2 separate regions of the Homo sapiens genome follow, and region 2 is linked to region 1. The links are contacts of gene promoters, found by promoter capture Hi-C in human tissues and cell types (Jung and others, 2019). All regions are on one chromosome and are shown on one strand. Each heading gives the region's core, a stretch centred on a gene start or on the middle of the fragment in contact. The rest is flanking DNA. Distances are from core to core; before and after follow the strand shown. Region 1 holds the start of KCNQ5 (potassium voltage-gated channel subfamily Q member 5). Region 2 overlaps LOC122539213 (KHDC1-KHDC1L).

Evidence for each region. Contacts are between HindIII fragments. The study calls those that stand out against the background at their distance.
Region 2: a contact is called between a fragment that was not itself captured here and the fragment with the promoter of KCNQ5 in region 1, in 1 of the 25 tissues and cell types used here (mesenchymal stem cells).

The regions. Positions count from the first base shown.
Region 1 is chr6:72,618,923-72,624,755 of GRCh38, forward strand. KCNQ5 (potassium voltage-gated channel subfamily Q member 5) reads left to right here and starts at 3,142. Exons shown (of 14, transcript NM_019842.4): 1 at 3,142-3,665. The coding sequence starts at 3,268. KCNQ5-DT (KCNQ5 divergent transcript) reads right to left here and starts at 3,757. Exons shown (of 3, transcript NR_186827.1): 1 at 3,610-3,757. RefSeq lists enhancers at 1,527-1,716, 3,827-4,778 and silencers at 3,137-3,396, 4,427-4,476. The HindIII fragment of the contact is 7,455 bases long and covers 1,341-5,833 here.
Region 2 is chr6:73,234,146-73,239,978 of GRCh38, forward strand. The region is part of intron 4 of LOC122539213 (KHDC1-KHDC1L); the gene reads right to left. Among named protein-coding and RNA genes, the nearest start is that of KHDC1L, 12 kb to the left of the region's middle. The HindIII fragment of the contact is 7,944 bases long and covers 1-5,833 here.

The DNA.
Region 1 (5,833 bases), core at 1,892-4,391:
ACCCCATCTCCAAAAAAGAAAAAGAAACACACTAAAATAAAATATCTCTAGAAACTATGTTCAGTTGAAACCATATCCATGTAGACTTCAGAAAATGTTTCCAAGGTCATAAATTTCAGGCAAGCATCTTAAGAGAATGAATGAGTAAAAGCAAACACATCTCAAAAGATGGGGAGGGCCAATCAACTCACATACTTTACACTAGCAGTTAACATTTGCCTTTACCTCTTCATAATGCTCTAATGTAATTATAATGCATAGAATATACACTGTTTTACTCACTGCTCAGTATGCCTATCCTCTTTTCTAAATTTGAATTTTAATATTTCAGCAAAACGAACTAATAAAAGGCAGTTTCCTAGCAACGTCTGTATTCAAAGGAACAACAACAAAGCTTAATCGCAAACACCTTATTTTCTCCAAAGTTAATTCCCGTCTTTTGAGGGAAGTTAGCAGGTAGCAAATAAAGCAAGGTGCAAACAGAGGCTCTTGTAGGAGAGGTTGGCACAGACTCACTTGGCTTTTTCTTTCTGGGCATTGAAAGGTAGGAAGGTTAGAACTTCAGCTAAGCCAGTCTTTCCCAATGGTTGCAGTCAGAGATTGATACAAAACCCCAGAACTGTTTGCTATTTTATCCATTCTCTGCTGGAGATGCAGATTGATTGGTGGAAGGAACAGTGAACTAGGAAGCCAGGTTGTTGGATTCCTAGTAACTCTCACACTACCCGCGAAAACTTGAGCAGGCCCTCTTTTTCTGGGCTGTGTATCCAAATGGCGGTTACTCTAGAAGACATAAGTGAAAGGTCCTTCTCAGCAGCTCAAAACGGCTACCAGTAACCGGGTCTTTTTTATTTTTTAATTAAGCTTAAATGGCATTTGCTTAATCAATAATACAGTTTCACTAGAACTAATGCTGCATCCCCAGAAAAGCATCACTTAGAAATTAAACAGCTGGCTGTCTTCCAGGGAAACGTGTCCCTGTGTCCTGCCTTCCTGAGACTTCTTGCCTGCACGCGGGGCCCAGCCGCGCCAGAGAGATGGAAGTGACTTTACCTACCCAGCGAAAGTAGCAGTCTGCAACAAGGAAAACAGCTAAGTTAAGAGGAAGTGGTTTTCATTTTACTGCTTGCAGAAAGGCCAAGATTTTGACGTTTAAAGCGGGCACACGAGTCATTTTAAGTCTCTAGATCTTTCACCCTGAAAGTCCCTGCACAGAAACTCCATAGGGAGTCTAAATATAGCAACAGCACCCCCTCCCGCCCCCTCCGCCTTCAGTCAGGGTCCCGCGCAGCTCTAGGATTGGAGAGCTTACTCCAGGGCGCTCTCTGCATCTGCCTCGAATAGCACCGCACGGAGCAACCTCTCTCGCACCTCCACAGTGCGTGGGTGTGAAGTGTATTAGGGGAAAGCTAGAGAGTGACTCTGGGTGATGGTGCTCGGCTCACAGTCACATGGCGTCGCCGCCAGCTGCACAGAGCTCCCAGCTAGCTTCTGCTGCCCAGAGGCTTGGGGGGAAGGAGGGAGGGAAGCAGGCTCCTGCTGGTGACCAGGAGCAGGCGAGAGGGCTTCACACAAATAATAGTGATAATAAAGAGTAAAAGCAAAGCATTTAAATCGAGCTATTGCAGAAGACAGAAATCAGCTGCCGCGGGCGTGGGTGTGTGTACAGGGTGGGGGAGAATTGGGAAAGTATTTATCTCGGAGGGGCGGAGACAGCTGCAAGAAGACTTTTGTCTTAGCATTGTTTTAGCCTTAGGAAAGGAAAAGGCCCGAAGGAATCCACCTTGCAACTATCTGCTATGTCTTTGTGGTGGAAGCTTAGTTTTGCCTTCAATTTAATTTGATGATTTTCTTTCATATTTGGGGAAGAGCCACTCTGTTGGAAGAAGTCCCCGAGCCTGGCACCCTTCAGTTTTCCCTATGCTGAATGTGAGATTTAAACTGCCTTTTCTTTGTAATACACTGTTTCTGAAGGCCAGAGGCTGCGGCCAGTGGCACCGTGGCCTCTCTCTCCGCCAAGGGCGCATAGGCTTTGGGCCACCCGGGTGCCAGGGGTGGTGGAAGACCCAGTCAGTTGTTCCTTGCAACAGGTCTCTAAGCTTGTATGTTACAACATAAGGTGGGTGGGGTCGGAACCCCGAAAAGCCGGCGTCCTGGACACCCCATCCTCCAGGTGTTCTTTCCCAGACACTGGGTCCTCGCCGCCGCTGCTGAACTTCTCAATCATATGACTTTCTCGGACTTAAATGGAAATTTCTTGACGGAGGGAACTGGGTTTGTTCTCCCAGGCTTCGCGCTGCAGTCAGGCAGAGCCCCGGGGCAGCTCGCTCACCGCGGAGGAGCCACTTTGGAGTTTTACGCCCTTTCCACACCCCACCCATGGACTGGAAAGGATGTTCAGTTACTCGCGAGCTTGTCTGATACTGGGATGGAAAGTCACAGTCCGCAGGCTGGAGTGAGGCGCGGGAAGATGCCTGGTCCTTGCCTCGCGGACTTGGCAGCCGCGTCCTGCGGGTCTGTCCACTGAACTGCTGAGGACTCGCCCGTGTGCGGGGACCCGAGTGCCACTTCCCGGAGCGTTACCTTGCGCTCCAGCCTCCAGGCTAGATAATACCTGGAAGGCAGGGCAGGGCTGTTCCCGCTCTCACCCCTTGCGGAAGGATGGCAGGATCCGGCGCAGCGACGTAGCAGCGGGAGGGCACAGCGACCTGCATCTCCAGTTTCTCCTCAGGACACAAGGCTGACTTCACCTTCCGGACAGCTGCAAAGCCCCTGCCAGAACCAAACCGAACTCGCGCCTCGGAGAGGGGCTTCTGGGGCCGTTTCGCTGCAGGGCGTGGGGAGTGGAGAGAGGGAAGGGGAAGCCTGGGGCTGGGTGTGCGCGCGTGGGAGCGCGCCTCGGAGCGCCCCGCACTCCCCCACTCTATCCCCGGGGGCAGTTTGGGAAGGAGGGAGTGGTAGTCGCGGGAATGAGGGAGCAAGAGAAACCCTCTCAAAGTGACGCCCCAAACAGGTCCGGATTTAGAATTCGAAGCTAAAGGCTGTTAGAAATTGGGACTCCTCGGCCTCCTCTGCAGCCCCTCCTTTCCCGCCCCGAAGCCCGGGCGGTTTGCTGGCTGCCTGCTTCCCCGCCCCCGGCTCAGAGGTCTCTGGCTGGCGGGCGCCCCGTCGGCCGCCGGCTTCCTCCTTGAAACCCGCCGGCGCACATGAGGCCGCTGCCCCCGCCGCAGGCGCTGGCGGCCCCCTCGCGGTGCCCGTGGTGATGCCATGCCCCGCCACCACGCGGGAGGAGAGGAGGGCGGCGCCGCCGGGCTCTGGGTGAAGAGCGGCGCAGCGGCGGCGGCGGCGGGCGGGGGGCGCTTGGGCAGCGGCATGAAGGATGTGGAGTCCGGCCGGGGCAGGGTGCTGCTGAACTCGGCAGCCGCCAGGGGCGACGGCCTGCTACTGCTGGGCACCCGCGCGGCCACGCTCGGTGGCGGCGGCGGTGGCCTGAGGGAGAGCCGCCGGGGCAAGCAGGGGGCCCGGATGAGCCTGCTGGGGAAGCCGCTCTCTTACACGAGTAGCCAGAGCTGCCGGCGCAACGTCAAGTACCGGCGGGTGCAGAACTACCTGTACAACGTGCTGGAGAGACCCCGCGGCTGGGCGTTCATCTACCACGCTTTCGTGTGAGTACCCGCGCCCCCTGCTATGCCCGCTGCAGGGGACCACTGTCCCTGGCCCCCTGGGGCGTGCTCCGCGCTCGCGCCCTTGGGCCCCCGCGCGCGTGCACACGTGGTGGCTTTTATTTCTTCGCACGTGTTCGTGGTCTTCCTTCTGGAGCCTCTCCCCTCCCCCAGCCCCACTTCTCTCATCTCTACAGCTTGAACCTTTTCCCCGAGGACACCCAATGAACTGCCCGGTAGCTTCAGGCTCCCGGGGCGAGAGCCAGGCAGACGCGGGACTTAGGCTGCGCGGATAATTGGGAGCAATTAGGTCCCAAGATACGTAAACTTCAACCGAACGGGGCGCCCGGGAGCTAGGGAATGCAAAGGGAGGACAGGCGCCCGTGTGAGGCTTGAGAGTATACTGGAGAGGTTAGGAGGTGATGGCGGGGTAGGACGGGGAGAAGTGAGGGGGCATCGAGGGCTAGGTCCTCAGTCCTAGGGGCGGAGTAGGGGAAGCTGCTACTTGGAGAGAGCTGCTAGGTTTTAAGCGCGCCCGGAAACACGCCTCGCCACCACCCAGCCACCACCAACGGAAAATCTGTCAGTGCATGTAGCCCTTCCTGCCACGGAGAAGGTGGCCAAGGTCTAGAGGAGGCCAGCAGGCCAGGCGAAGCAACGCTCCCGCGCTGCAGGGGGCGGGGAGGCAGCGGGGAACCTGGGGCGCAGGAACGCGGGCGGAGGTGCGATAGCAGAAGCGCAAATGGGTCGCCTCTGACAGAGATCGGGCAGTGGGTTAAGTCCCCGTTTGTGGCGCGGAGTCAAAGAGTGTGTGTGTGTGTGTGTGTGTGTGTGTGTGTGTGTAGTAAGCCTTCTCCATCTAGCAGAGAATGCTTAATGAGAAAATGATTGGAAGCAAATGTTTATTTTTCCCTTAGGCATTTAAAACCTTTCAGTGGCTTTAAAGTTTACTACTGTTTTTCCCACAAAGTCCATTCATTCAGTCTCCTATTAGAGTTACGTTTATCTGGGCATTTTAAGGTTGTTTTTATAATGTTACCTCGTGTCTAATTCTTTTTTTCTTCCTCTTCTCCTTTTGCTTCCTCTTTTTTTAGTATTATTATTTCTGCTTCTTTTTTGTTAAGATGAAATATAAAGACATCAACCTTAGAAGACCAGTAGAGAAAGTTGCAGATACTCGCTGATACATTCCTTGTTTCCTAGTAAAATAAGTTTTGAGCACACGGACTAGGTTTCTTTTAGAAATAAGTTATGTCATCCATACATAGCTCTCTCCTGGGATGCAGAATTAGCATCAACACCAGAAACGTGTTTTGAAATAACATGGAAGAAGGGCTGGTTTTGTAACTAGGTGAACCTGGAATTCAACCACATAGGAGTCAGGAAATTGGTGGAGTCTACAATCTGTGGGGCTCTGGTGTCTGGAAAATTTTACAGTCCCAGATTGACGTGAACATGTAGCATTAGGCAGAATATTCCAGCCAACTTTCCGTTTTACAATGCACACAAGGAGAACGGTTGTGTTGCATCATCATTACATCAAAAAGTATAACTTTTATGTAAAATTCACATTTATTTAAATGTGGTTAGGATAATGATAGAGAAATGCAACTGACACTTTTCTCGTTAATCTCCTCTGACCTGATATGTAATTAAACATATTACTTAATAAGCCTGGTAAATTATTTTGACCTGTCAGAATATACTAAAATAATTTAGCAATTATAATGCTCAATTTGGTAGCAAATATATATACTGTATAGGTTATGATTTTTTCTTTACAACAGTATGCTCAAAACATTTCTAGCCTTTCTTTTTTTTATATTATGCATTGTATATTCAGAGAGAGTTAAAGAAAGCCTTGGTTGGTGCACATACTTTGCATCTCCTAACTTGTTCTTGAACATGAATGAGAACTTGCAACACAACATTTTCTTTTCCATGTGTTGGTGTTAACAGGTTTGTATGGGCTTACAGAATTTTAAAACATTAATAAATGATTTTTCCAAAGGTTCAAGGTTGGATACTTCTCTGTCTACCAGGCTTTATCAGTCTAGCAGTATCTTTAGTAGTAGACAGGAAATAAATTGTGTACTTAATAGATGTAGCAAATGTGAAGTTTTGATTATACATTTTAGAGTCTGAAACTGCAATGCCTCAGCAATTAGATA
Region 2 (5,833 bases), core at 1,843-4,342, 620 kb after region 1:
CAACCCGAAGAGGAAGCCAACACGGGTGGAAGGGAGCCCTTGGCATAATATGCCTGGAATGTCTGCTATTGGCACTAATACAGTGCTTTATTAGCATCCAACTAGACAAGTGTTTCCTGTTATTTGCTGTTCAAATCATGCTACATGATTCTGGTCCCTTTTACATACTTCTCTCATTTTGATTGATTGAGCCCAGCAATGTTCCACTTTCCAAAGAGGGAGAATGAACTGTAGGTAACCAATGTTTTATCACATAAAACCTCAAGATTGAAAAACACAAAGTATGTCTTTATTATTTTCATTTATAGCACTTTCCAAGTCATATAATATTAAGCATCAAAGAATTTATAATAAAAATGTGTATGCTCTATTGAGTACCAAAATACTAATACTATAGAAAAATCCTGACCACTCCATCTGGTAGCCAACAATAAATAAATAAGAAGAGAAGAATTCCTATTTATACTTTAAAAATCAAAGCCCTTCAGTTGGAATTATCTTGCTGTGTATCTTGCTCTCAGGCTGGAGTGCAGTGGTGTGATCATAGCTCACAGCAGCCTCAAACTCCTGGGCTCAAGTTATTCTCCCAGCTCAGCCTCCCGAGTAGCCAGGACTATAGGTGCAACCACCACACTTGGCTAATTTTTTATTTTTTATTTTTGTAGAGACAAGGTCTCACCATCTTCTCAGGCTGATCTCAAACTCCCAGGCTCAAGCAATCCCCCTTCCTGTGCCTCCCAAATTGCTGGGATTACACATGTGAGCCACTCTGCCTGACCTCAAATGGATTTTTAAATGGTTTGCTTGTTTATCACAATGATTACTCATTCACTGATTGAGTAATCTGCCTTTCCACATTAATCTGAATCATCTTATCAAATATTAAATTTTTATGCATATATGTGGGGGTATATTTGGTTTTCTATTCTATTCCATTGATTTGTCTTTCCATTCATGCATTAATAAAACACAGCCTTTTATTTACTGAAGTTTTGTACTATTTAGGACATAGATAGGACTAATGCTTTTCCTTTTTTTTCTTTTTTTTAAATTTTACTTTAAATTCTGGGCTACATGTGCAGAATGTGCAGGTTTGTTACATAGTATACATGTGCCATAGTGGTTTGCTGCACCCATAAACCCCTTATCTAGGTTTTAAGCCCTGTATACATTCAGTATTTGTGCTGATGCTCTCCCTCCCCTTGCTCATCACCCCCGGCAGGCCCAGGTGTGTGATGCTCACCTCCCTGTGTCCATGTGTTCTCACTGTTCAACTCCCACTTATCAGTGAGAACATGCAGTATTTGGTTCTGTTCCTGTGTTAGTTTGCTGAGAACAATGGCTCCCAGCTTCATCCATGTCCCTACAAAGGACAGGAATTCCTTCTTTTTTATGGCTGCATAGTATTCCATGGTGTATATGTACCACATTTTCTTTATCCAGTCTATCATTGATGGGCATTTGGGTTAGTTCCAAGTCTTTGCTATTGTAAATAGTGCTGCAATAAATACATGTGTGCATGTGTCTTTATAATAGAATGATTTATAATCCTTTGGGTATATACCCAGTAATGGGATTGCTGGGTCAAATGGTATTTCTGGCTCTAGATCCTTGAGGAATCACCACACTGTCTTCCACAATTTCTCATGCCTGTTTTTTGTATAGGTTGTGGTTTAGAAATTTTTTTTTTTTTTTTTTTTGAGATGGACTGTCACACTTGTTGTCCAGGCTGGAGTACACTGGCGCGATCTCAGCTCACTACAACCTCTGCCTCCCGGGTTCAAGCAATTCTCTTACCTCAGCCTCCCGAGTAGCTGGGATTACAGACGTACACCACCACACCCAGCTAATTTTTGTATTTTTAGTAGAAACGAGGTTTCACCGTGTTGGCCAGGCTGGTCTCAAACTCCTCACCTCAGGTGATCAAACCACCTCGGCCTCCCACAGTGCTGGGATTACAGGTGTGAGCTACTGCGCCCAGCCAGGAATCATTTTTACATGGCTCTAAAAAATCAAAAAACAAATTATTTTTTCTTACACATAAAATTATGTACAATTCATTTTGTGTTTATAAATAAAGTTATATTGGGACAGTGCAGTACCATTCAGTTATGTATTCCCTCTGACTAATTTTGCACTGTAATCATTGAGTGAGTAGTTTCGACAGAGACTGCATGACACAGAACGTAAAATATTTACTATCTGGCACTTTATAGAAAAAGCTTGCCTGACTGTTGCTCTGAATCACCAGGAAGAGCTAATTTACTTTGAATACACTATGATATCTATAAAAAAAATTTCCAACAAAATCATCACTTAAGGATACAATTTTTTTTCTTTTTTTTTTTTTTTTTTGAGAAAGAATTTTGCTCTGTTGCCCAGGCTGGAGTGCAATGGCGCAATGTCAGCTCACTGCAACCTCCACCTCCACCTCCTGGGATCAAGCAATTCTCCTGCCTCAGCCTCTCGAGTAGCTGGGATTACACCACGCCCAGCAAATTTTTGTATTTTTAGTACAGACAAGGTTTCACCATGTTGGCCAGGCTTGTCTCAAACTCCTGACCTCAGGTGATCAATCTGCCTTGGCCTCCCAAAGTCCTAGGATTACAGGTGTGAGCCACCTTGCCCAGCGGATACAATTTAATTTAAATTTTTTTTGTCATAGAACTGTGTACTTCCTTCAGTGCAAAATAGCTGAATCTATGACTTTAGTATAGTTGCAACTCACTAAAAAGTGATTTCCTCACGTCCAAAATAGAATGAAAAGACATTAAAACATTTCTGATTGATACGTTTATATTTTCCAGTGTACATTCAGTGATACTTAATAAATTAAGACAGGACTGAAACTTCACATGGGCTAGCTATAAAAGTTTTCCATCTAGTGGGCCAATGATTGGCCTTATATATTACCTATAGTATTTTTCTCTACTATAGGTTCTCTGATTCAACATTAAGTCTAGTGTCCTTGATCATAATTTTTTATTTTATTATATGTATTGGATTTCTCCCCAGTGTATTTCTCAGGTTTGACAGAAATATCACTGCAGGCCAGGCACAGTGGTTCACACATGTAATCCCAGCACTTTGGGAGGCCAAGGGGGACAGATCACTTGAGCTCAGGAGTTTAAGACCAGCCTGGCCAACATGGTGAAACCCCTTGTCTAAAAAAATTATAAAAATTATACGCATGGTGGTGTGCAACTGTAATCCCAACTACTCAGGAGGCTGAGGTGGGAGGATAACTGCAGCCCAAGAGTTTGAGGCTGCTGTGAGCTATGATCATACCACTGCACTCCAGCCTGGGTGACAGAGGTTCTGTCTCCAAAAAAAAAAATTAAATTACATTAAAATATATACATAATAAAAATAATAAAAACCCATTTGACCCATACCTAACAACCTAAATCAAATCACATCTCAGGAATACATTTAAATAATATTATTTAAATGTAAAAAAGAAAACCCAAACCATGCCAGAGGAAACCACTACCAAATATTTTATAGTCATGGGATGAGGAGGGCATTCCTAAGAACTAAACAAAATCCAGAGGCAATAAACATAAAAAGATTCATGAATTCACCTCATAGACATTAAAAATATCTACATAGCAAATACCACCCAAACAATGTAAAAAACAAAGGACACACTGGAAAGAAGTATTTGTGGCTTATTTTACAAACAACACACTAATATTTATAATATATCAAGAGGTACTACAAATCAATAACAACCTAATGGACAACAGCCTAAATAGACAGGTCACAGAAAGTGCAATATAAATTGTGTATACATATGAATGAAAAGGCATTGGAAAACACATATGGGAATCCAATAAGAAGATATTCAGTGCCACTTGTAATAAGATAAACGCAAATTAAAGCAGCACTAGGAAACCATTTTTCATCTATCAATAAGACTGACAAAAATTAAAAATATTTGATACTCATTATTGGTGAGAGTGTAAGGAAATAGATACTCATACACATGTGGTAGAAGTATAAACTGTCAACAATTAGGAAGGAAACTTGGCTATATCCATTAATGCACTTTTAGCAATTTATCCCACAAATATATTCACACATGTGCAAAATGACATATACACATTGCAGTACTGCAGTATTGTTTGTTACAACATAAGGTTGGAAATAACCTAAAAGTCCATCAATATGGAATGGGTTGAATGCTATATCCATACAATGGAACACTATATAGCTATAAGAAATTATGAGAAAGTGTTTCTGCTCTAAAATGCAACCCTCTGCCAGACCTATTGTTAAGTTTTTAAAAAGGCAAGGTGCTAAAGAGTATATTGTATGATGCAATCTGAATATAAAAAAGAAGACATTGTATATGCGTATTTATCTGAGAACCAAGGGTATACAAGGAATTAGAAACAGATTTCCTACAAGAAATGATACTGTATAGCTGAAGGACAGGACTTGGAGGGTATCTTTTTCACTAAAAGCATTTTTTGAATTTTGAACCCAATAAAGAAATTATCTATTCAAAAAACAAAATTTTACGTTTAAATGAAAATGACATAGCTGATATTCAATTATTGGTTCAGTACAATAAAGAGTAGTTCCACATACAGAACATATCTTAAGGCTTCAGAGGACATTCTCTATGGGAAAATAAATATTGACCCTATTGAACAGGAAATATGGTAGCAAAACACACACACACACAAATCCATTTAGCATCATTCTTGGTTTTTTGGTGTTTTTTTGCTTTGTTTTGTTTGTTTTTGAGATGGAGTCTCACTGTATCGCCCAGGCTGAAGTGCAGTAGCATGATCTTGGCTCACTGCAACCTCTGCTTCCCAGGTTCAACTGTTTCTCATGCCTCAGCCTCCTAAATAGCTAAGATTACAGGCATACGCCACCACACCCAGCTAATTTTTGTATTTTTCATAGAGACAGGGTTTTACCATGTTGGCCAGGGTGGTCTTGAACTCCTGACCTCAAGTGATCTGCCTGCCTCGCCTCCCAAAGTGCTAGGATTACATGTTTGAGCCATCGCACCTACCCTGTTGTTTTCTCTTTTTTTTTTTCCAGCTTCCCCATGAAAATACTTCAGACAGGGATCCTTCAGTGGGATCATTGCTTACAGCTCATTAGAAAATGACAGCTCAGCCGGGCGCAGTGGCTTACGTCTGTAATCCCAGCACTTTGGGAGGTTGAAGCAGGTGGATCACTTGAGGCCAATAGCTCGAGACCAGCCTGGCCAACATGGCAAAACCCCATCTCTACTAAAACTACAATAAATTAGCCAGGCGTGGTGGCATTCCTATAATCCCAGGGAGACTGATGCACCAGACTCGCTTGAACCTGGGAGACAGGGGTTGCAGTGAGCCGAGATCACGCCACTGCACTCTAGCCTGGGTGACAGACCAAGATTCCATCTCAAAAAAAGAAGAGAAAAGAAAGACGAAAGAAAATGACAACTCAGACTCCTTAAACTGTACTAAGGTATACACAGACCTTTGCCAGAAGTTTGATTGGAGTTAGAAATACTATGGTACCTTTGACAATCATGAGACTTTTTCCCTAGGAAATTTTTAGTAAAAGCAATGTTGATTATTGTCCAAAGGTCAGGGATATACATTTATCTTTGTATGCCTAGCAAACTAGAATGTGCTTCACTTCTTTACAGGTTATTTTTATTTCAATATTAGAATACATTCCTAGCCATTAAAAAGAATTTCATGGCTGGGTGCGGTGGCTTACGCCTGTAATCCCAGCACTTTGGGAGGCTGAGGCAGGTGGATCATGAGGTCAGGAGATCGAGACCATCCTGGCTAACACGGTGAAGCCCCGTATCTACTAA